Regions from separate parts of the Homo sapiens genome. Here regions 1, 2 and 4 are each linked to region 3. The links are contacts of gene promoters, found by promoter capture Hi-C in blood cells and fetal thymus (Javierre and others, 2016). All regions are on one chromosome and are shown on one strand. The core of a region is centred on a gene start or on the middle of the fragment in contact, and the rest is flanking DNA. Distances in the headings are between cores, read along the strand shown.

Region 1 (6,498 bases), core at 1,760-4,259, 580 kb before region 3:
CTATATGATCCAGCAATCCCACTGCTGGGTATATACCTAAAAGAAAGGAAATCAGTTTATCAAAGAGATATCTGCATTCCCATGTTTGTTGCAGCTCTGTTCACCATAGCCAAGATTTGGAAGCAATCTAAGTGTCCATTAACAGATGAATGAATAAAGAACAAATGGTACTTACACACAATGGAGCACTATTCAGCCATAAAAAAAGAATGAGATTTAGTCATTTGCAACAACATGGATGGAACTGGAAGTCATTATGTTAAGCGAAATAAGCCAGACACAGAAAGACAAACATCACATGTTCTCACTTATTTGGAGGATCTAAAAATCAAAACAATTCAACCCATGGAGATAGAGAGTAGAAGGATGGTTACCAGAGGCTGGGAAGGGTAATGGGGGAATGGGGACAGTGAGGATGGTTAATGGGTACAAAAAATAGTTTGAATGCATGAATAAGACCTAGTATTTAATAGAACAACCTAGTATTTAATAGACCTAGTATTTAATAGTTATTATAGTCAATAATAACTGTACATTTTAAAGTAACTAAAAGGGTATAATTGGATTGTTTGTAACACAAAGGATAAATGCTTGAGGGGATGGATACCTGATTCCCATGATGTGATTATCATGCATTGCATACCTGCATCAAAATATCTCATGTACCCCATAAAGATATTCACCTATTATGTAACTACACAAATTTAAAATTATAAAAGTTATTTTTAAAAAGAAAAGGTTCTGGTATAAAGAAGATGATACCATTCAGCCTCTTTTTTTTTTTTTTTTTTTGAGACGAAGTCTCATTCTGTTGCCCAAGCTGGAGTATTAGTGGCACGATCTCTGCTCACTGCAACTTCCACCTCCTGGTTTCAAGCGATTCTCCTGCCTCAGCCTCCCAAGTAGCTGGGACTACAGGCACGCACCACCATGCCCAGCTAGAGACAGGGTTTCACTATGTTGGCCAGGCTGGTTTTGAACTCCTGACCTTGTGATCCGCCCGCCTCTACCTCCCAAAGTGCTGGGATTACAGGCATGAGACACTGCACCTGGCTTTTTTTATTTTTTGGAAACAATCTCACACTGATTTGTTTCCCAAAACAGTCGAGGAGAGTTTGGGCTATTATAATATCTATCAGTTCTTTCCAAACATTCTTTTCAGGTAAAGTCAGGTTTACGTACTTGGTTATGTTCAATTTAACTCTGTGTGACGAGGCAATGCTGTGTCCAGCAGCGCCCATTTCCTTTTCCATGAGGCACACATTCTTTACTTCCCAGCCACCCTTCTGGGTAGGGCCATGTGACCATGCGCATGAGTTCTGGCTAAGGGAATGGGGTGAAAATGATACACACCACTTCCAGGACTGGCCCCTAATATCTCTGACAAGTTAACCACGGCCAGCCTCCCTTATCTGAGGGCCACAGATTTGACTACATTACCAAGGCCTCGGCATGGGAGAACCACCAAATGCAAGAAGCCTGGTCCTTCAATGAATTCAAGAAGTACAGACCCCACCCTCTGGCCCCAACCAACTTGTTACCACACTGTGACTTGTATGAACATAAGCCTTTATGGAGTTAAGCCCCGAGATACTGGTTTTGCTAGCCTACTCCAATTAACGCACCTTATATTTACCACCAGTGGTAGCATAAGTGAAAAGAACCCCTGGACTTAGTTCCAGGACCCGGGATAAAAATTCTGGCTCTACTACTACCCCGACATATCCCATGATCTGCTCCTAGAATATGCTCTATACTCTTCCCAACTGCGTGTCTACTGCATTTTCCTCTTTCATTAGACAGCCCTCCTGACTCTTCTCTGCCTCACGATTTCTGTCAGAGTGGGGGGCCTTCTCTGACCTCCGTCCCATACGTGGTCACTTCTCTTTGCTTCAAGTGCAGCGTACGTTCCTCTGTTTTAGAATCTACGTTTTTATTGCAAATATTTGTTGACATGTGCTTCCCCAGACTGTGAATCCTTTAACTCCCAGCATTTAGTTACAGTGTCTGGCACACGTAGAAAATAAATATGCATTAAACGAATGATTGTCACATATGACCTTAAGTGAGTCAATTATTTTTTAAGTCTACTAAATAAAATTTTTGAAAATTGTTGTAATGATGAAATAAGGAATGTGAATGTGACTTGTAGGTTATAAACAGATTCTAACAGCAATGGGTTTACTCACTGTTTGTAGGCCCTTCTCATCTTTTCTAGTCAAATCCATCTTAATGCTGCAAGGTAGCACTATCCAATAGAAATATAATGCAAGCCATATTTATAGCCACATTTAAAAAGTTAAAACCAGGTGAAATTAATTTTAATATATTTAACCCAATATACCCAAAATATCACTTTTTAAATTAAATCTTCTAAATCTTGGAACACATCTCTATTCAGACCAGCCACATTTCGAGAGCTCAGGTGTCACCTGCGGCTACGGCTCCCGCAAATGGGACAGCAGCCGCAAGGCCAACTTCAGATAGCAACCTGACTTCCCCTCAGGCAGAATAAGTGACTCCTCCTCAGTGCTCTCTCAAGCCCTTTATCCTATCGTGAAAACTAGAGGGTACGCTCCTTGAGGAATTCCAGACTGTTGTCTGGAGAAATCGCTCTCGGCCTCGGTCTGGCCTGTAACGGGCGGTTACGCAATTCCAGGTAATTGACGAACCCTGAGGACAGAACTCCGTGGGAGGCCCAGTAGCCAGAGCGGAAAATGGTCAGTCAGGCAAGAGTGCGGGCAAGTGGCCACAGCAGGCTGCGATTCCGGCGCCCGCCGCCCTCCAAGCGTCTCGGGCCGCACCCTCCCCACAGCGGCGGGCGCGGAGGTCCCGGGTTCGCGTTTGGGGGCGCCTGAGCCGCAGCCCCGCCCCCTCCCGTCCCTCCCTCCCTCCCTCCCTCCCACTCCTCTCCCTCCCACTCCTCTCCCTCCCACTCCCCGCACCTCCGCCGCCGCAGAGCCCCGGAAGCGGGCGGGGATTTCCTGTGCCCGCCCCGCCCCGCCCGCGCCTGCCGGGCCGCCGTCTCCGCCTGTCGCTGGCTCCGCCGGCCGCCGGCTCCCAGACGCAAGCGGAGGGCGGAGGGGAGGGGCAGGCGGCGCCCGGGAGGGAGGCACCGGGCCGCGGGCCAAGCCTACCGGGGGTGAGTGGAGCCGGGCCGGAGGGAGCTGCGGCTGGAGGGAGGGACGCCTGGCTTCCCGGGGCGGCTGGTGGGGGCTCGGTCACCCATAGGGGCTGGGAGGAGGATCGGCGCGTCTTCCGGGTTGCTGCCTTTCCCGGGGGTCTGCCCCGCTGACATTCTGTGCCCGCCTCTCGCCCTGTCTCCCCGTGCCCATCGCAACTGTCAGGCCCTGCGGGCTCCCGCCGCTGTCACTCGCGCACAGGTTACCCCGTGGCTCCCTTTCTCTTCACTTGCTCATGCCCCAGCTCATGGGAAACCTGTTTTCTGACCTCACTTCCCCTGCTCCAGTTCTGCCTTGCTCGGATTCTCTGAAATCTGACCCTTTCCAGGGGCACTGTGACAAGAAGAAGGGAAGAAGCAACCTTACCCCTGAGCAGGCTCCCGTCCCGCCCATGCCCTACCCGTGGCAGGGGCCAGGGTTCTCTGATGGACGGAGCCAACTCGTCCGTGTGCCCTTGGGCTACTCATTTTTATAACATGGCCCCTTTTCTGTTCATCAGCACTGGCTGCAGAAACTTCCTTTTGCAGGTCCCTTGCTACCCATATGTGTGAAGAAAAGGGGGAAATGAAAGCCCTAGAACCCACACTGCAGTGGGCATGGGATCATCCTGGAACCAGGAGAAACGAGGTTAGGGCTACCACCTTAACCGCCCAGGTGCTGGCTCTGCGTGAATATCTTAGGAAATGCAAGCTGAGGACAGGTACCCATCCCATCCTTTGCTGAGATTTTTGCTAGCACTTCCACGGATTTCTGTCAGTGGTATAGAAAAACTTACAGCTGGCCCAATGGGCTCTGCACAAAGAGGCTTCCCATTAAGAGACTCTGCTACCTGGGGGAGATGGAGAAAGGGTTTGAGACAAGTGTCCAGATATGTAGCTAGAGGTAAAGCCTTCAGGGAGGATTTGCACAGGAGCTAGAGAACCAGAAAGATGGGACGAAGAGGGAGAATTAGTGCCCTGTGTGTTAAAAGTGGATACAGAGCTGGAATTCAGAGAAGAGAGCTAAAATGGAAGTTTCCCTTTATTGCTTTAGCAAGAATTTTCCTTTCTCATGAAAAGTCTCTGAAAAGGAAACCTCCTAGGCTGGGAATCAGTCCAGGGTGCTCCCATGAGGCCCTGAGCCATCTTTGGACTTCTGAGATAAAAAGGGAATTTGTTTTTCCTGTGCATTGGGCTTAGGGTTCCCACCTACCTCTTTTGTCAAAGACAAATAGGCAAGAAAATAGACGACTTGACATCTGTGATTACCTACCCTGGCCTTCAAGGTTCTTGCAAGTGTTATTGAAAGGATGTAAGTAAGCCAGGATAGTTACCAAGTTTCTGACTGCTCTTGGAAGCCTTTCACTGACTCTGACTGTTTGGATATTGAATAAGAATACCCAAAATATGTTGCCAAACAGAAAGAGATTCTGAGTCTCAGATTATTTCTCTGCCATAAAGCCCTATCACAACAGAAGTGTGACCCATCCTGCTCTTAAGTTGTCTAAAGAAAAAGAAGAGCCCACTATCTGGTATTGTACACTGCAGGATTATTAAGAATTAAAAAAAAATAACCTAAATCTCTTCTCTTGCAATCAAGACCCATTTTTTTCTGTTTGACCTATATAGAGATAGAAGGGACCTCTGTTTTTATTCATTAGTAGCATCATTCATCAGCCTTCTTCTCCAGACAGAGAAAACTACATCCGACATTTTTAACTTTCCCAGTGGCTGTATTTCCAATCCCTTTCTTGACTTTGATGTTTTCTGATGAACACACACTGGCTTCACCATACGCTTCTTTCAAACTGAATATATTTTTCTAATGAGATCTGACTGGTGCCTGACAAATAAACAGGTTTGTTCTTCTGGGTCATGTTAGCAGCAGTTCTTCCCCCCTTTTCCAGCTCTGGTTCAAACTCTTTCTGTTCCTTTTTACTTTTCCTGATTAAACTTCAGCTCCTCACAGACCAACAATTTCTCTTACCTCTTAGGATTACTTTGGAGTCTTAACACCTGCTTTCCAAGTTATCAGTTTTTCTACCATATTTACTACCAGTTTTCATTGGATGGTAGACCAAGTGCCTTTTTATTGAGGCTTGTCCCAAGTGAGGTACCTTTTGGCCCAGCCTCATGATACAAATACGCCCCTTGGTTGGGACTTTTACCTATAGTAATCATTTCATTCTAAACTGATGAGACTGTGATTTGTGGCAGAAAATCTTCTGTGTGATTACATCCATCTTGTTGAGTGCAGGTCTATATGTATTTCTTCCTGTATGTTTCCAAATTGCTTACTTTCCTGTACTTCATGTGCTTGAAATTAAATGGATAGCCTTTGAATTTCCAGGACAGTTCTTTTTTTTTAAATGAACTTCTTCTAACCTTCAGGTATATTCTGTTTCTATAATGAGGTCCACAAAATACCAGTTAGTGGCTTTGCTACGTAGCACCTGCCAATTTCTTAGTTCCTCCAAGAAGCTTGGTGCAGGCTCCGTTGATCGGAACACATCAAGCTTTTAAAGTTCATCTTCCAGCAAGCTCCTCCTATCTAGTTTTGTCTATTATCCCTGGGCCTGTTCTTCATAACTCCCTTAGAAATATCACTCCTTTCCCATTTTCATGGGCATTGCTGATATGAATTTGTTCCAGGTCACAATTTGGGTCTGCAGCAGAAATGCTTTCAGAACAGACAGCAGCGCTGGGGACAGGATGGGAATCAATGAATGTACAGCTGGATGGAGCAGAGCCCCAGGTGGAAAGGGGAAGCCAGGAAGAGCGGCCATGGAGAACAGTACCAGGACCTCTGGAGCACCTGTGCTGTGACCTTGAAGAGGAGCCACAGTCCCTTCAGGAGAAGGGTGAGAACTCACAGAGTGTGTGGGAAGCACAGTGCATAGTCTCCTAATATTTATTCCAAAAGTAGGGTTAAAAATCTCCAAATTGCCATGGACTAAATAGCATAACCTGTACCAGGACCAGCCCATTCTTTCTCAGCCCTGGTCACAGGTACAGAATAGGCTCCTGAATTCAGCAAACCATGCAACTGGGCTTCTCTTGTTTCTTCATAATTACTCCCTCCACATGCAAATGCATAATTAGTGATACTGAATGAGGGAGATGAAGGAAGTGACAGCAACCTGATTACTGTTGGATAACCCACTCAGTAAGATGTAATTTACTAGATGAAAATTACATTCAAGTACTGTAAATTCAAACTATAGCTAGTCTAACTAAAAGCCATCTGATACCCTTTCAGAACATTTTGAGTGATGGCCTTCTCATCTACATTTATGCATTTGAGTTTTACCAATGGGCATAGATACAGAAGTTGTGAC
Region 2 (6,481 bases), core at 2,634-5,133, 730 kb after region 3:
TGTTTCAATAAAGTCTTGCAGCAAGAAAGCTAAATAACTCAATATGAATGAAAACATTATAATTTTTAAAAGTAATGACACTACACTTTTCCTAGGCATTTCTTTCAAAGAAAGAAAGAATATTTTCTTTAACATAAAAATGTGGCCAGGTGCAGTGGCTTATGATTTTAATCCCAGCATTTTGGGAAGCCAAGGCAGGAGGATCACTTGAGCCCAAAAGTTTGAGACCAGCTTGGGCAACATAGTGAGACCTCGTTCCTACATAAAGTAAAAAACTGAACATGTTGGCATGTGCCTATGGTCCCAGCTAATTGGGAGGCTGAAGTGGGAGGATCGCTTGAGCCTGGGAGGTCGAAGCTGCAGTGAGCTGTCATTACACCACTGCACTCCAGCTGGGGCGACAGAAGGAGACCCTGTCTCAAAACAAACAAACAAACAAACAAAAACAAAAAAACACATATACAAATGTATGAAATATTCTTTTGTTTGAGAAGTGAAATGGAGAGGGAAAGACCTATAATAACTCTATTTCTCAGAAGCAGCATGAACAGCATGTATTTTCATGAACAGCACACAACTAGGGGTGTTGCCATGTTGACATGTGCAAAATAACTACCATATTATGATAATTTTAGGCTGATACAGTCCTCTTTATGATGAGAAAAATTATCATAAATCTTAAAAGTATATACATTCTCTGTAAGTAGTTTTAATTGATGACCAAAATTTTTGCCATTTATGCAGCAATTTTGTTTCTCTTTCCTAGTCACAGTTAATACCACCTACCATTTTTTGTGCACCTAATGTTCAGGTACTTTGCATATGTTATCTCATTTGAATTTTAATTAAGGTATATGACAGAACAGAGACACAGAGATGGAGGAGCTAGGATTCAAAGACTGATCTACCTGCCTGCAAAACTGGTATCTTTCTATTATTTTGTTCTGTGTTATTGTTACCTGGGCCACCTTTTTCCTTGGGATATGGGTTTCCAACAAGATCTTGAAGCATGACCCTCCACATTGCTAAATCACCTGCCTTAGTTCCCTTCACCTGGGAATGCTGAGATTCTCAGCTCACTCTTTCATAACTCAGAGACTTCACAGAATCTTAGAGATGAAAAGGATTCCAACAATCTCCATCCCATAGAGGCCCCAGAGGATGCCCATATATTTTTTTCTGACAGTGATTTTTGTTGGAAGTTCTTATAACTAGAATTTGTGAAATGTTGCTTTTAAACAATTGCAAATTGTTTTCAGTTTGTTCTCTAGACTACTTCCTCTTCTAGAGAACCTTTTACGAAATCCAAGAAAAATGCTTCCAGAGAAACATAGTAACAAGAGACAATAATCTAGGAGGTTGGTATAATTATATCTTTAAATATATTATTAAATATTACAATATAGCTACTCACTTCTCAATTTCTGATTAAAGTTAAATCATGCCAATAAATCACTCTAAATTATTTGCAGCTGAAAGGGGTTGGGGCTGACTTGAGTGAAATGCTTATTGGTACTGATCTACTTTCTATTATTCATCTAACACAGTTATTAGTTCTAGCAGAAATTCAATATTTTAGTTTGAATGTTTTGGCCCCTCCAAATTAATGTACTGGAATCTTAATCCCCAATGCAATCGTGTTGAGAGGTGGGGCTTAATGAGAGATGTTTAGGCTGTGAGGACTCTACCTTTATGAATGATTGATGCAACTACCAAAATAACTTTCAAGAGTGGGTTCTCTCTCTTCTGCTCTCCTGTCATGTAAAGAAGAGAGTTTCTCCCCTCTGGAGGATGCAGCATTCAAGGCATCATCTTGGCAGTGGAGACTGGACCCTCCTCAGACACCAAACCTATTGGTACCTTAATCTTAGACTTTCCAGCCTCCAGAACTGTGAGAAATAAATTTCTGTCCTGTACAAATTACCTAGTCTTGCATATTCTGTTACAGCAACACAAAACAGACGAAGACTCTCAATATCAAATCAATGTTGGTTAAGCATTTTTTAATTTTCCATGGAGATGTTATTAGTTTTATTTACATTTGCACATTAAACTGTCTGGTAGAATTAACAGATGGTCTGATCAGTAATTGTCCTTTCCAGAAGCCACCACTAATGGCTGTTAACACTCTTTCTTCTCTACTCACCTACTTTTATCCACTGGAGTACTTTTTAAAGCAATTATACCTCAAATATACTTCATTTCCTCAGATCCAAGACAAAGTATCAAGTAATTCAAAAGTCTCACTTAGCAAGACTGTTTTTCTTTTATATTTTGGAATTATACCTGGCATATTTTTGTATTTCAGGCAATTGGAAGGGATTGAATAGTATCCCATACAAAGTAACGTGCACCCAAACTTTAAAATGTCATGTTTTTGCCAGTAAGGTCTTTGTAGATATAATTTGTTAAGGATCTTAAGATGAAATCATCCTGGATTTAGGTTGAATTTTAAATCCAATAACTGTTGTCCTTGTAAGAAGAGATGACATAGAGGGACACACAGGAAAGAAGGTGATGGGAAACTGGAGGCAGATATTGGAACTACGCTACCACAAGCCAAAAAACTCCAAGACATGCCAGCAACACTAGAAACTAGTAGAGAAGCATGGAATGTTTTTCCCTTAAAGCTTCCAGAAGGAACTAACCTAACCCTGCTGACACCTTGATTTTGGAAGTCTGGCCTCCAGATGTGTGAGAGAATAAATTACTAGCATTTTAAGCCACCTAGTTTGTAGTAATTGGTTATGGCAGTACTAAATCTTTAAGAAACAATCTTTATTTTATACGAACTACTATAGAAAAAAAGAAAAAAATTATTTAGTTTATTTATACATTTAGTATAATTTTGATAATAAAATAAGAGTAATGCAAGATAAAAATAGTAGGTCAATTATACTTATAAATATTATTTCATAAAAATATTTGCAAATCAAGTCCAGCAACACACAAAACAAAAAGATAGTAAATGGTTCAACATTTAAGACCTATGAATATATGACATTAACATTGTAAAGAAAAAAATTATAAGGTAATCTTAAAATATGTAAAAAAAAAAAGAGATAAAATTCAACACTCATTTTTCCTGAACATGTCCATTGATGTGCGTATTTCCTTAATATGTACTACCAATTACTAAAGGACAAGTTCAACCAAATATTTAATAAATAATAATTTCAATTTTACAAAAACTCTTTTAGGTTATAGAAGAGGAGGAAACATCCCCAAACTTATTTTATAAGGTTAGCATAATCTTGATAGCAAAACTAGGCAAGGACAGCATAAAGTAGAAAACTTACAGACCAGTCTTATTCATGAACATAGATATAAAAATCCTAAACAAAATCTTATAAAGCCAAATTATATAATGTATAAAAAAGTAAATATTTTATTATCAAGTTGAATTCATTTCAGGAATACAAAGTTGATTTAATATTAGAAAGTTAAATTATGTTATTCACCCCACACATAGTAAAGAATTCAACTTTGTCCGAAAAGAAGTCTGGTCTTTGTCCTTGGCTTCTGAGAGGTGATGGGTAAATTGATGGAATATCATGGTTGATAGGAGTGTCTTTGTTTGGCTGTGAGCCTTGGGTCACCAGATTGTCTAAAAATATGATTTAAGATGGAGAATGGCTACACCAGAAAGACCAGAAATGTGATTTAGCGTGGGGGATTTGGGTCATGTCTGGAGAGGGTGGAGGCTGAAGATTGAAATCAGCCACATTGGCAATCGCCCATGTCTACATCATGGAGCCTCAATAAAAAGTCTGAACACCTGGCTCTGCTGAGCTTTCCTCATTAGCAATATTTTGTGCACATTGTTATACTTTGATATTTGAAAAGTAATGTGTCCAGGACTCCATGGAGAAAGAAAAACAGAAGCTACATGTTTGATACTTTTCCTGGACTCTGCTCTAGGTGCCCCTCCTTGACTGACTTTAATCTGTATCCTTCCTGTAATACACTCTAACCTGGATTATAACAACTTTTAGTGAGTTCCAGGAGTCCTTGTGGATTAGGTAACCTGAAGGTGGTTTTAGGAAGCCCCTAAACTTGCAATTGCTGTCAAAAGTGAGGACAGTCTTGCGTGGACTATGCCACCTCAAACTGTGCAGTTGGCTAACCAACTCATGCCCCATTAACATATTTCTTTTTTTTTTTTTTTTTTTCAGATGGAGTCCCACTCTGTCTCCCAGACTAGAGTGCAGTGGCACGATCTGGGCTCACAGCAAACTCTGCCTCCTGGGTTCAAGTGATTCACCTGTCTCAGCCTCCCAAGTAGCTGGGATTACAGGCACCTGCCACTGCGCCCAGCTAATTTTTGTATTTTTAGTAGAGATTGAGTTTCACCATGTTGGCCAGGCTGGTCTTGAATTCCTGACCTTGTGATCCACTCACCTCAGCCTCCCAAAGTGCTGGGGTTACAGGCGTGAGCCACCGCACCCCGCTGCACCATTAACATATTAAAGAATGAAAGCTATATAATGAGCTAAGTAGACACATTGTATTAGATAAAATTTAATATCCGTTTATGGTTTAGAAAATCTTAAGCAAACTAATAATGGAAGAAAAATTTCTTAAACGTGTAAATATTATCAAAAAACTACAGCAATATTATACTTAATGGTGAAAAATTTTAAGTTTAATATAAAATAGGTAAAGATGTTTATTATTACTACATTTGTTTAACACTCTACTAAATGGCCTAGATGGTATAGTAATGTGAATAAAAAAGTAAAATAAAAGGAATTAGGAGTTAGAATGAAACAAAACAAACTGGTCATTATTTATGGGTAGTATAATTGTCTACAAAATAAAAAGGAAATTGCATTTTTATACACCAGCAATGATCAGCTAAAAATGTTATTAAAAAGATTATACTATGTAAAACATTCTTACCTCTACGTTTGTTTGCATTTGTCAAAATTCAACAAATTGTGCACTTGTATTTGTCTATTTTACTGTATGTATATTTACCTCAAAAATGAACTGTAAACAAATATTTAAAAAGTAAAAAACTTTAAAAATATTTATACTATTTTAAATTACAATAAAAATAAATATTTTATCCAAGAGAAAAAAAATCTAGTGGGAGATGTGTAAGCCCATATCTGGTAAAAATTATAAAGCTTTATTAAACGACATTAAATAAAACCTAAACAAATGAAGAGATATACCATATTCATGGATAGTCAGATTTAATATTGTATTGACATTAATTTTCATGAATTGATTAACACTCCTAGAATCCCAACATCACAAGTTGATTTTAAAATTTATATAGACTAGCAAAGGACCAAAAATAACCAAGACAGTTCTAAAGAACAAGATGGGAACTTGTATGATCAAATATCAAACTTTATTATAAAGCTATAGTAATTAAGACATTGTATATGGCACAAGGAAAGGTAAATGGAACATCATAGAGAGCTCAGTACTAGACCTACACACACATATATATAGACCATAGTCAATGTTAAGGAGAAAAAAAATCCAAGGAAGAAGGGGGAAGGAAGGGAAAATAGTTGAAAGAAAAATATTTGGCTCAGTATATATACATTTAATCACAGTCAAAATGATTTTTCTTAATATTTATGAAATAGAGGGGCATAACATATGGATAAATCACAGTTCAGTTTTCGTACTGCAGGGTCTCTTTTCTTTCTTTTTTTCTTTCTTTCTTTCTTTCTTTCTTTCTTTTCTTTCTTTCTTTCTTTCTTTCTTTCTTTCTTTCTTTCTTTCTTTCTCTTTCTTTCTTTCTTTCTCTTTCTCTCTCTCTCTCTCTCTCTTTCTTTCTTGACAGGGTCTTGCTCTGTTGCTCAGGCTGGAGTGCAGTGGCACAATCTTGGCTCACTGCAACTTCCACCTCCCAGGTTCAAGTGATTCTCCCACCTCAGCCTCCTGAATAGCTATGATTATAGGCGCACACCATCATGCCTGGCTAATTTTTGTATTTTTTGTAGAGATGGGGTTTCACCATGTTGGCCAGGCTGGTCTTGAACTCCGGACCTCAGGTGATTTGCCCACCTCTGCCTCTCAAAGTACTAGAATTACAGGTGTGAGCCACTGCGCTCAGCTGATTTTCCAAGCTTAAGATTCGTGTATGAATGCAAAGTCATATATCCATGAAGCCAGAGCTGCCAAGGAATATTCTGCGGGTTTCTTTGTAGTTCAAGGTCCTAGTAATGAACAACTATGAGTCATATTGTATTGTTATGAACTTTGTGAATGTGAACTAATATGAAAAAAGTGCTGTCCAGTTTTTTCACAACTATATACACAACTATATACAATATTCTCTGGAATTGAGACAATTAATTCTTTATATTTTCATCTTTTTTGTTAGATCAAATGCACCATTGTAACTCAATATTCAGAAAGTTTCTACTCAAAAACAGTTTCAGGGCATAGTCTACTTCTATGCATTTAGGGGAGTACTTTAAATTTTCTTTCATTACGCTAATAAATTTTCTGTTGT
Region 3 (6,232 bases), core at 3,733-6,232:
CACTTCCTCTAGGATGCCAGCTGCCACCCAGCCAATACAATACAAAACAACCCTCTGTGCCAGGCAGTGCCTGCTGGTGCAGCCCAAAGAGTGGAACAAATATCAACTCCATTGGCAAGGGTCCGGGCAGGGCGGTGGATCCCGGCAAGGGACAAATGAGGAAGGAGGCAGAGCCAGCTGCAGGCTCTCAGCTGGTTGGGTTGCAAGGTGTGGGCCACTCAGGCCGCTGCATCCTAGGAGTCAGGAGGCCTTTCCAAAAGGCAGCTGCACACATGCCACTCAGAGTAGTTACCAAATGTGCACAGGAAGGATAAGCATCTGGTTGGGGAAAGTGGTTATCTCTGGCAATGGAGACAAGGAAGGGAAGTTGATGGGGCGGTGGGGGTGGGGAAGTGCTTTGAATCTATGGGAATCTATGCTATTTTGTTTCTTAGGCTGGGTGGGAAATCTATGCTATTTTATCTACGCTGTTTTCTCAGGCTGGGTTATAAGGGTGTTTGTTAAATCATCTATCCTTTTTTGTGTGCCTAAAATATTTCATAATTTGTTTAAGGGGGAAAAAGGCAGGAGGAAGCTTGTCACTGTGGAGCTATGCTCTGGTTACCAGCTCAGAGGCTGTCCCAGTTTGGCTGTCCCCAGACAGTCCAGTGAGGAACAAAAACCCATGAGACTCCAAGCCAAGAAACCAGGAGCCTGGCACTGCTGTGTCCCAAAGCCTTGGTGTTTCCACATCTAAAAATGGGTGGGCCCAGGGGTCCTGCCAGTTTAGGTAACTGGGCCCAGGGTTCTACCCTAGTGAGGGTGAAGGCCTACCAAGCCTACAGCTTCCCTCAGCCCCTGCCACCGTTTGACCCCCTGAACACTCTCCCAGCTTTGCCCCTGCCCACCTCCACTCTTCCTCAGGGGGTGGGGGCCTGGAATGTGGGTCCCCCTCCTACTGAGATCAGGGTGGGCCAGGACAAGCATCTGTTCCTCCCCACCTAGTCTGGATGCTGGAGTGGGCCAGAGGTGGACAGGACAATCATCCTGCAGCTTCCTCTTACCTCCTACAAGATCTGGATTTTTATACCAGCCACCTTTCACAGAAGTCCCTCCCACTCCTCACATGTGTCCCATGTTTTCATTTGAGGGAGCTGTTTGGTTTATAAAGGGCCCTGGGAACAAGGGGTGTTGTCACTGAGCACACTCAAGGAGCAGTCTGATGGGCACCTGTCTGGAACAGGTCCCCTCGCCCTCTGTCTCCTCGTGCCACAGAGGGGTTGGGGAAGTTGAGCTCTAAGATCCTTTCCCACTCAAAGATTCTAGAAGCCAGCTTGGGAGAAAAATAAGGTCAGAACAATTCCTCTGTGACTCAGCAGTTTCTGGGTTAGGAAATGCTGAAATAGGGGCCTGTGAAGATGCCATCTCTTAGTCCACTGGCCACGATCCAGTGGTTCCCCAAAACTCCCACCCCCATGTACATGCACATACCAAAGAGGGCTGAGGGCAGGAGGGAGAGGAAGACAGCCATTTGGGGGCGTTTTGGGCCCTGTTCTTTGTTAACAACAGGCATGGTTTACCCACCTCTCACCTTCCCTCAACCTTGCTCCAGGCCCTGCACAGAGGCCTCCCCTCCAGATAAACACACATCAAGTGTGGAGGCAGGCCTGCTGCCCACGCCCTGGCTCCCACCACCCTCCTGGGAAGGGAGCTCTCCACCAGCCCTACCCAAGGGGGTCACTGAAGGAGATGGAGCCCCTCACTGGTCCCCTCCCACACATCAGGCAGGAGGCAATGTATCTCCCTAATACCCTTCCCTGGCACACTTGGGGACTCTAGGAAGCCTGGTTTATAAAACTCGGGGTGGAATGGACAGGTCCCCAATCCCACCTGGCTGCAAGCCCACACCAGACCACACCGTTGCTCCATCCTACCTGTTTCAAGGAGCAGAGCCCCTGCTTAGCCATGTGAGCTTATTGGCTCACAGCCGATAAGCTAAGGGTAAGGAAGGCATAGGGTAGGGCGGTGAAAGCATCCCCAGTGGCTGGGCTGGAGGTGAGGAGACAGGAGACACCCGGGGGATCCCACAGGGTAAATGCAGACAAGAAGGACACTGGGCCTAGGTCAGGCCCCTCTATTCCTTCCTAGGAGGAAGACAGTCCTGGAGCCCCAGGGCTCTTGCTCACAGCTCACCTGGGAAAAACATAGAGCTGTTTAGACTTCAGGAGCAACTTTTCTTTTTCTCTTTCCTTGGTCTACTAAACCCAGAGCAAGAGTTTGTGTTTTCCCCCAGGACTCCCACAGCAAAGCCAGACCAGGTAGATCCAACCCACACCTGCCCGCCTCCCCAGGAAAGCCAGTCTTGCTTCTGCCACTGCCTTTCTCCAAAGCCACTTCTTCGAAGGTACCCATCAGGATGGGAGAGGGTATCCCCACCCGTGAACACTCTGCCCACCAGACCCAGGGGCTCCATGACTCTGCTCCAGAAACTGGCACATCCAATCAGTCCTTGCCTGGTCCAACACAGGAGAAGGAGCATGCTGGGGCTACCCTTGGGTGACTCAGCAGATTCTGAGCTATAAAACGCTGAGTCAGAAGTAGGGTGCTCACACGTTAGTTAATCTGCTGACACTTTACCCCCAAAAGAGGAAGAAGGTTGACTGGCCACAGACCCTCTGAGAACTCACTCATGGTGGGGAAGGTCGGAGGCCCAGGCTTGGCAACCCCTCTCCCTGCCACCATCCACCACCACCACTACCAAGCAGTTTTGGCTCTTCCACAGCCACTGTCAAAGATCAGACCATCAGGGAGATACCAGGACCCTACTCCAGCTGGCTGCTGCCCTAGCGAGCTGCTGCCCTAGCGAGCTGCTGCCCTAGCGCCTCTCTCTGAAGGCAGCTCCACAGCTGGCCTGCCTCATAGGCCAAGGGAAGCCTGTGGGGAGGGAGAGAGGGCAGAGTTGGGTCGGAAGAAAACCCCAGGCAACTCCCTAGAGTATAAGAAAGAAGGCCTTTTCCACAGCCCTCTAGGAGGCAGCTGGAGACTCAGGGAGTGGGCAGCACTGCAAGATTTCAGATCTGGAGGGAAGTCAGATGTCTTTTGGGGACATCTCCTCCCACTCCTAATAGATGAGGAAACTGTGGCCCAGGATAGGGTCAAACGGCCAGGTAGGGTTCACCTCCACTTGTACCAGGCCAGACTCAACACAACCAGCTGAGATCCCAGGCTGGCCCTCCCTGCTCATCCTTCTCTTGCCTTCGGTCTTCGCAATGCAATCATAGGGCTCTGACGCCGCCTTCCAGAGGGGAAAGCAACAGGGCCAATAGGAAACAAAAAAGTGGCAGGGAGAAGTGAACCTTGACAAACATGGAGGGTGGCGGGGTGCAGTGGGGAAAGGAACTAGGGCTCTGTAGATAACGCGCAGAGATGGGCCAGTTGTCCTCAGGATCCCACAGGTGGTGAGGCAGCTGGGCAGGCAGAGAACACCCTAGCCAGGGTGCCCATCCCCCCTTCTTGGTGACCCAGTGCTTTGTTGGCATTGTGTAGGGTGGGGCCCTGTATGCCCCTCTTCTAAGGCATTAACCCCACCTCATGCTGCGACTCTACCCAGGGATGGCACTCAGCACTCCCTGTGGCAGTGAGTAAATTAGTTATTTTTAGTTATTCCATTTAGGGTTCTTTTGGCCGAGGATTTTAGTAATGGAATATAATCATCATATGTAAAAGTATTATACGTATTTTCTTCCCAAAGTCCTTTCCCACACATATTATTTCATGTAGCTGTGTAATCCCGGGTAAGCAATTTATTTAACTTCAGGCCTCAGTTTCCTTATCTGTAAAATGGACATAATCGTAAGGCCTACTTCATGAGACTAATGTAAGGATTAAATGAAATAAGGGAAGCAGGTTGCTTAACATAGTGCCTGACACATAGAAAGCATTTTTTAAAATGTTAGAAAGTAGAGATAATATTTTTCATCTTCATACCAATTCTATGGCGCAGAGAGGTTAAACTGCGAGCCCAAATGTGCACAACAAGGAGCACTGGTCAGCCCAGAGCCCCCATCAGCGCACCGATGCTTCCCCTTCCCTCCCAGAAGCACAGAAAGGGCGGCTGGCCTGCAGGATTTGGCAGAGCTTGGCTGAGGAGCCACAGCAGACGGGTAGCAAAAAGGCACCAACATGGGTGGAAAGAGAATGTCCAGTTTCTATGAGATCCCTAACGCCGTCCTCCCTGTGGGTCTCAGCAGAGGGCTCTGCGGGGGAGCCCTCTGGAAGGAGGGAGATGGGCTTCCCCAGCCACCCCTAGCCCTCTTCCTTTCCCACTTCTTCCCTCTCTGCCCTCACCCAGCACCCAGGGAAGGGGCGCCTGGGGGGCAGGGGATCCCTCAGAACAACCGTGTGTGTGTGCGTGTGTGTGTGTGTGTGTGTTTGGGGATAGGAGGCGACCAGCGCCGCGGGCGCGCGGAGGGGACACTGTCGTGGGGCAACTGGGCGGAGGGCGACAGGCAGTGTGCCGTGACAGATAACCCGGGCGGCGCGGCAGGTCTGTGCAGCCGGCAGTGGCGGGCCGTCGGCACCCCCAGGTGGCGCCCGGGCGGGCATCGGGTCTCAGAGGCACCCAGGAATGCCCAGGAGCCCGGGCCCGCGTGGGGCCTGCCGCCGCCAACCGCTGTTTTCGAGTAAACACTCCACCCGCTCCGCGGGGAAGCGCCGCTCGCGGGGAGCGTCCTGGAGCAGCTGACGGCGCCCGCCCCGCAGCCGCGCACCCGCCCCGCGCCGCCCAGCGTCCCGGGGTACCTGCGAGCCCTCCCATGGCCGCGGTCCCCGGCTGTCGGTAGACCACCGTCCAGACGAGGAAGATGGAGAAGCCGGCCACGGAGCTGATGCCGGAGTAGGCGGCGCGGAGGCCGAGCTGCAGCCTGGACGGGGCCATGGGGCTGCGGCGCCGGGCGGGCCGAGGGCGAGCGCGGCCGAGAGTCACAGGTGCAGGGCCCGAAGCCGCCAGCCGGAGCCGCGGGAGCCGCCAGAGCAGCCGGCGCCCCGCGCTCCGCCCCCGGCCCGCCCCCAGCGCCGCCCGCACAGCGCCCTCCCCGGCCGGAGGCCGCCCGCGCCCGGAACCGCAGACGCCACCGCCGCTTTGCGAAGCTGCCGTGTCGTTTGGGGGAATGCTGCTAAAAAGGCGGATTCCTGGGCCCATCCCCAGACCCGCCGTGTCCGGATTGTTGGACCTTGGAAGGGACCGGAAATATGCCTTTATACGAGCGAACCGCGAGGATTAAAAATCTTTACCTCTGAGTACGATGCGTATTTTCGTTTAAAATTAAAATTAAAATTTCTTGTTAAAAATTAATAGGTAAAACTTAAGAAATATTAGAGTACGCTGTGAATAGAATTCCTTCCGCCCGTCCTTCTATCAACCAGGTTCCCTCCCACCATATCGCAGAGGATTTCTCCACACACTAAAGTCTGGGAACCCCTGCGACCATCACCTTCTGACTGCAAACATTCTATACATTCTATCCTCACGCACAGCTCCCCACAAATCCCTACTTTTTTTTTTTTAAACAGAGTCTCACTCTGTTGCCCGGGCAGGAGTACAGTGGCGCCATCATAGCTCCGCATCCTCCAACACCTGGATTCAAGCAATGCTCTCACCTCAGCCTTCCAAGCAGCCAGGACTACAGGTGTGTGCCACCACGCCTGGCTAGTATTTTTTGTTATTTATTTTTTGTAGAGATAGGGTCTCGCTATATTGCCCAGGCTGGTCCCCAACTCCTGGCCTCAAGCTGTCTTCCCACCTCGGCCTCCCAAAGCGCTGGAATTACAGGCTTGAGCCACTGCAACGGACCTCACCTTTCCTTTTATCAGCACAAGCCTTATCCTCCCAAACCCCTCACCCTGACCCTCGGGATCATACCATTGTAAGGAAGAGACAGATCTGTAGCAGGAGGGCACTGAGCTCCCACGTGAGCCCAGCTTCCGGCCGGGAGCTGGAGGGAAAATCCCAGCACAATAACAAGGGCTCTGCCACAGCACTAAGGATCCACATGGGGAGGCCCATCATATACCTGCACAAAACATAACCAATACCCCTTGCATTAGTTTTTTTTGTGTGTGTGCTGCCGTAACAAATTACCACAAATTTACTGATTTAAAATAACACAAACTTATTATTATTTTACAGTTCTGTAGGTCAGGAATCCAAATAATGGTCTCACTGGGCTAAAATCAAGGGGACATCAGGGTTGCC
Region 4 (6,525 bases), core at 2,861-5,360, 750 kb after region 3:
CCATTCATGAGAAACTGTCCCCATGATCCAGTTACCTCCTACAAGGCCCCACCTCCAATTGGGGATTAAAATTTGACATGAGATTTGGGCAGAGACATAGATCCAAACTATTACTTCGTCCTCTCGTTGATTCAGTTCAGTGTTTTAACCTAACTGAATATGTATTATGCAAGTACATAATGGTAAAACTAGCAGGACTCTCTCTCATCTGACCTCTAATCTGATGACTACATTCTATTCTATCAGCTTCATTTTTTTTTCTTTATTTTCTTTTTTGTTGTTAGAGACAGGGTCTCACTCTGTCACCCAGGCTGGAGTGCAGCAGTGGTACAATCATGCTTACCGCAGCCTTGACCTCCCAGGCTCAGGTGATCCTCCTACCTCAGCTTCCTGAGCAGCTGACACTACAGGCATGTGCCACCACACCCAGCTAACTCTCATATGTTTTGTAGAGACAGGTTTCACCATGTTGCCCAGACTGGTCTTGAACTCCTGAGCTCAAGAAATCCACCTGCCTCAGACTCCCAAAGTATTGGGATTACAGGTGTGAACCACCATGCCCAGCTATCTGCCCCATTTCTGAAGTTAATATGATTTTTCCTACAATCCTCTTCCCAACTTCATCCATGAAGAAACTAACCATGTGGTGAAGTAGAATGTGTCGGACTTTGAGGACTTATAGTCGTCATCATAAGGATGTCATTTACAGCCATATAACCAGATTCAATTACTGAAAGAGTGAGTATAGGTGCAGAGAGATATCCAAGGTATGGACCCTGGAATACTTCAACATTTAGAGGTCTGGAAAAGGAAGATCTAGCAGATAAGATGATGAAGGGAGAAGAGGAGAATACCAATGACCGTAAAAAACACAGTTTCCTATAATGGTCCTTCATTAATTCAGAGGTCATTCTTTCCATAAACATAGATTTCTCCCATACCCTATTCAATGCAGTTTCTGCCTCACACACTTCAAACCACAGGATGTATATGGAAGTATCAAAAGCATAAATAGACCTGCAGTAACCCTTAATGCCAGTTTTGGACTCTGTCTCCTGACCTTGAATACTGGAGGTATGGCAGAGTTAGTCATATCTTGATTAGTCACAGATGTTGAATTATAGGTTGTTTTTTTTTTCAATAAATTGGGCTTCTTCAAGTTGCTGTTTGGATGTCATATTAGCATTCAGGGCATGAAATATAAATCTATTTAGATTTTTCAATTAGGAGGGAATTTAATGTAGACAATTAAACACTTACAAAATCATTGAAAGGTTATGGGACTACCATCGAACTATGGGTTTCAGGTTTAACCACCATTGCCGCTCTTGCTATTGCCATCACAGCTGCTCACACTCATGAAGCTGAAAACTAGACATGAGAACCTGGAGTCCAGCTACCACAGGCACTTATGTTTTGGCAAACTTGCTTGTCAGCGTTCATAGCTACAAAGCTGGACTTCCTCACAATTCTACTTTCTAGATATATACGAACACACAATTGTCCCTTGCTATTCATGGCAATTGGTTCCAGGACTCCTCATGGATGCCAGTATCCATGAATGCTCAAGCCCTTCATATAAAATGTCATAATATTTACATATAACCAACACACATCCTCTCATATACTTCAAGTCATATCTAGATTACTTATAATACCTAATGCAATATCTAAACATTACTTTCTTGACATGGATTTAGTCTAGTACATGGCATGTGGCAATTTCAAGTTTTGCCTTTTGGACTTGGAGAAATTTTATTTTTCCTATTTTAGGTCTGCAATCGGCTGAATCCACAGATTCAGAACCCATGGATATGAAGGGCCAACTGCGTATTATTAGCAGAACCCAAATCACATTTAAAACCTTTGCTCCAAGTGACTTTAAAAAATGTGGTTTTTAGATGTCTAGTCTTTAAAATACAGAGGGCATACAAAGGAAGATGAGACTAGATTTCAAGTACCAGTAGCTAATATCCAGCCAAAACATGTACAAGGTTGCAGTCTTGCAAAAGGTTTTAAGACTAAACATTTTCTGAAAACTGCAACTTCTACATTACTTCATAAATATTTGCATTTCTGACTTTCTTTCTTTCTTTTTTTTTTTTTTGAGATGGAGTCTCACTCTGTCACCCAGGATGGAGTCCAGTGGCAAGATCTCGGCTCACTGCAAACTCCGCTTCTAGGGTTCAAGCAATTCTCCTGCCTCAGCCTCCCTGTATTTCTGACTTTCTATAGTAGGGGAAAGCTTATGGTTCTTATCCGTTTGTTACCGTCTGCTTTCTTCTCTCCTTGGCTTCCAAAGAATGCCCATACGTTGGTCAATTATATTGTCTCTTACTCAACACTTCCTGAGCATACTTTAAGTAAAAATGTTTTGGACAATCTATATCTAGGTACCTTTTAAAGTGGGACATGGTTTTGGTATAGTGCAACTTCTTTCTCCTGGCCTTTAATGTACACAAGCAAATTACTAATCAATTGATTGGCTGCACAAAAGATTAAATATCAAAATGAGTATTGAGAGAGAGAAGTGTGAGGGGCATTAAGTGGGGGAGCCTCATAATCTGTCAGAGTCTAACCTAGGAATGCAGATTAACCTCACACACTGTTTCCAGTTTGGACTATCTTACTTCTCATTTAATTGTAGATAATCTTATTCCAGCACTGCCAACCCATGAAGTGTATTGCTTCTTCTACTACAGTCAATCACTCTCCACACCCTACTTCACGTCCAGGATTAAATCTCAATAACTCATGAAGTAGAGTAACATGTAGCACTTAGTTCATTTCAAAAAATAAAGTGCCCTTTGATATCGTTTTTATGGCTATTTTCGTACCTTTTGCTTTTTAAAGAAATTAAAGCAAGAACATCCAATAAATAAATAAACAAAAAGTTACAAGTGCTGAGGGAAATACATTTTCCTTAAAATTATGTCTGCTGTAAGAATATTTTACCATACTCCAAATGAAGAGAATAGCACAGATACATCTAGAAACACGCATCATAGCTAAAACTTTTTCCAAAGGGAATAGCAGTTAATATCCTGTAGTGCCAAATCCATTTTTAACCAACAGGGACTTTACCAAGGGAGGTCCCTAACCCCCTAAATCTTAGGAAGAACTCTAAATGTCCTAAGTTGGGTCTCTAGCCTTGTTCCGTCCTTTACCCAGGATAAAATGTACTCTACCACTTACGCAAAGTCAGGCAAGTGGTGCTGAGCAGATAATTTTCCTTTGGGTTTGGGTCTCTTCCGTATAGTCCCTCTGTGGTTTGCCAGGAAGATGTTACTGGAAAGCGGTCCTGATCCAGACCCCAAGAGAGGCTTCTTGGAGCTCATGCAAGAAAGAATTTGGGGCGAGTCCATAGGTAAAGTAAGAGCAAGTTTATTAGAGAAGTAAAGAAACAAAAGGATGGCTACTCCATAGACAGAGCAGCCAAGGCCTAAGACTTTGTTGTTGTTGCTGTTGTTTGACAGAGTTTCACTCTGTTGCCCACGCTGGAGTGCAGCGGCATGGTGTCAGTTCACTGTAATCTTTGCCTCTGCCTCCTGGGTTCAAGTGATTCTCCTGCCTCAGCCTCCCAAATAGCTGGAACTACAGGTGTGTGACACCATGCCCGGCTAATTTCTGTAGTTTTAGTAGAGGCGGGGTTTCACCATGTTGGCTAGGCTGGTCTCAAACTCCTGACCTCAGGTGATCCACCTGCCTCTGCCTCCCAAAGTGCTGGGTTTACAGGCATGAGCCACTGCGCCTGGCCTGCCTAAAACTTTTTGACTAGTCAAAGTGTTTTTCATGTCTAAAACATAACAATTTAAATAATGATGTTTTTCTTTGTGAATGCTATAAGATTACGCTTTATAGAATATTAAGATCTGTGGCTTGATAACAGCTGTTGCCCACTTGTTTGGATTATTGGTTTACTTGTCTGCCTCCTGAACTGAGAGCTCTTTGAGGACAGCTATGATGAGGACCATGGCCAGCATACTGTGATCAATAGTAGAGGGCTGAGAGATGCTCCTTCACTAGGGATTTGCAGGACTGCTAGAAATTAGCCACATAGAAGAAAAAAACGGAGTCAGCACATTTTGGGCAGAAAGCAAGGTATGTCCGAAGGAAGCTGTTGCTGTGAGAAGATGATATGTTTGGGAAAATTCAGGCTGTTTAGTAGGGCTGCCCTGTCGAGATGTGCAGGGAAATGGGGACAAAGGAAGGCAGGGTCCACTACGCACAGAGTCAGGGTTATTAAGAGATGACGTTTCAGCTTTATCCTGAAGGCTACAGTGAGGAGCTTAATCAGGTCTATAGTTTGGCAAAAGCACTCTGTCATCTAGGTAGAGGATGCATTAGAGTGGGGAAAAGACCAGAGACAAGGAGTTCAGTTAGGAGACTATCACAGTAAATCCAGGCAAGGTCTCACGATGATTCTAACTACTGTTAAGTCAGTAGGTATATTGAGGAAGGGACAAACTTATTTGAGAAGTAATTAAGCAGGAGAATCTATTATAATTCTGCTAACATAGTAAACATGGTATGCCCTGAAGATAGGCTGCTGGGGTTCAAATTTTGCAGGCTCTACCGCAGTGCCATGACTTTGGATGAGTTGCTTAGCTTATTTGTATCTCAGTTTTGTCATCTATAAAATGGGTGTAGTAACACAACACAGTGGATGATTGTGGAGATTATATAAAATAATAGGTGAAGAGCATTTAACTCTCTGCTTGCCATACAGTAAGTGCTCAGTATATATTTGTTATTTTTTCTATTGACTGATTAGACTTGGAGGTTGAGTGAGAGGACAGATCTAGGTTGGTTCACAGTTTTCTGGCTTGACAAAGTATAGGATCATTGAATGCTCGAATCTGCATTATTAATATTGAGTTGTCTCTCCAGACAGGATAGTCCATGTTGATAATCCAGCCACAGTTATATATCAACTCCAGTCCAAAAAAAATTCCCCAAGAGTAACTATTAATATGTTCCATTTCACTTTATTTGGGATTACTAAGATTGTTAAAAGAAGATGATAAAAGACGGAGACTGGGCACAGGGTGATGAAGAATGCAGAGACCTTCATTTGGTACTGGCAGTACATTCAAGCATCTTAAGTTTAAACTGGGAAGAATCTCAATCATTTCTTGGACCAGCTACCTAAAACTAATAGAAAAAAGGCAATGTTTGAAAACTAAATGGATTTTTGGCATTCAACAGCTAGAGAAAATGAGTTTGGGGGCTGAGGGTTTGGGGGAGGGAGGGCGGTATTTTATAAAGGTCACTGTCCCAAATGGAAGTCAAATGCTTCATCTTCTTTAACTGCAACAGAATACAGCTTTTTCAAAAAATGAATAACCAGTGAAGGATATCTTGGTTTTCTTTCTTACCCATTAGAGATAACTGATAAAAGTTAGGCAATAGAAGAGCTAGTTGGTAAAAATTCATATTAATTAATTTGTTGGTAAAATTATATATTCTTATAAATTATAATAAAGCCATAATGTAGAATTATAATTATATCAAAATTATAAGTTATTTTGTTGGTAAAAATTCATACTATTTTATGTCTCCTTGGTGGCTACTCTGACACATTTTCTTTAGTTTTTTTTACTAGATCTAAATGAATCAGAGGGCAAAGATCTACATTTATCTTGTCAATTTCCCCATATCCTAATTATATGATATAATTATTGTATTTTATAATTATTTTATGTGTACATAATATGTACTTAGCATATATATCATATAATTATTGGATATATTATATTTTTCTTGTATCTTTGTCTCAATGCTACAAAGAGAATAATAGTAAGGATAATAAATTACTTTCTAACATTAGCTCTGACCATCATACACTGTAACAGAGCTTTGGCCAATGCGTGGGCAGTGGCATGCTGGAGCTGGCTGTAGTAGCAGCTCAGAAGAGCTGATTGCGAGCATTTCTTTCCAACTCCTTTTTCAGTGACCTCAAGCTGGAAGCTTAAAATGAGACATAGTGGGAGTAGTTATACCATAAATACAGTACAAATCAGGGCTTTTCCTCCTAACAAACTAGTTTACCAGCACATCATTGATTAAATGTCAGAAATATATATATATAAAGATCTATTTTGTGTGGTATCAGGTGGCAGGAGAGAGGAAAAGGAGAGGTTTTGATTGCTGGAGAAGTGAAAGGGTCTTGAATTCAGCATCAATTCATAAAATTGGTTGAATCATAGAAATCTGCTAAGCTTCAACTATTTTTGTTTACAACATATCATATGGTTCAACCTAATACATGAGGCTGCAAGTAACAGAAACCCCTACAAACAATAGCTTATATAAATAAAACTTTTTGTCACATTGCAAGGAATCCAAAGGTAAGAAACGTCCTGATACAGCTATTCAATGAACTCAGCGATGCTGTCAGAGACCTATCATCCTGTTGCATCATCCTTAGAAAATTGACTTTTGTCCAGGTGAGATGGCTCACGCCTGTAATCCTGGCACTTTGGGAAGTGCAGGTGGGCAGATCGCCTGAGGTCAGGAGTTCGA

Evidence for each region. The method cuts DNA at HindIII sites, captures the fragments that hold promoters and counts their contacts. A CHiCAGO score of 5 or more calls a contact.
Region 1: the fragment with the promoter of ZNF641 here is called in contact with the fragment with the promoter of SLC48A1 in region 3 in 5 of 17 cell types (neutrophils, M0 macrophages, fetal thymus and 2 more); the score reaches 7.7 in neutrophils.
Region 2: a contact is called between a fragment that was not itself captured here and the fragment with the promoter of SLC48A1 in region 3, in 1 of 17 cell types (total B cells). The highest score is 5.2, in total B cells.
Region 4: a contact is called between a fragment that was not itself captured here and the fragment with the promoter of SLC48A1 in region 3, in 1 of 17 cell types (naive B cells). The highest score is 5.0, in naive B cells.

What each region holds. Positions count from the first base shown.
Region 1 is chr12:48,347,430-48,353,927 of GRCh38, reverse strand. ZNF641 (zinc finger protein 641) reads left to right here and starts at 3,009. Exons shown (of 6, transcript NM_001172681.2): 1 at 3,009-3,142; 2 at 5,813-6,021. The coding sequence starts at 5,838. RefSeq lists silencers at 2,499-2,578, 2,859-3,288 and enhancers at 2,254-2,990, 3,429-3,498. The HindIII fragment of the contact is 6,093 bases long and covers 1-5,643 here.
Region 2 is chr12:47,041,178-47,047,658 of GRCh38, reverse strand. No RefSeq gene overlaps it. Among named protein-coding and RNA genes, the nearest start is that of PCED1B, 35 kb to the left of the region's middle. The HindIII fragment of the contact is 2,502 bases long and covers 2,633-5,134 here.
Region 3 is chr12:47,771,988-47,778,219 of GRCh38, reverse strand. SLC48A1 (solute carrier family 48 member 1) reads right to left here and starts at 4,982. Exons shown (of 3, transcript NM_017842.3): 1 at 4,780-4,982. The coding sequence starts at 4,915. RefSeq lists enhancers at 3,750-4,254, 4,255-4,761 and a silencer at 4,507-5,116. The HindIII fragment of the contact is 7,379 bases long and covers 577-6,232 here.
Region 4 is chr12:47,024,049-47,030,573 of GRCh38, reverse strand. No RefSeq gene overlaps it. Among named protein-coding and RNA genes, the nearest start is that of PCED1B, 52 kb to the left of the region's middle. The HindIII fragment of the contact is 3,725 bases long and covers 2,248-5,972 here.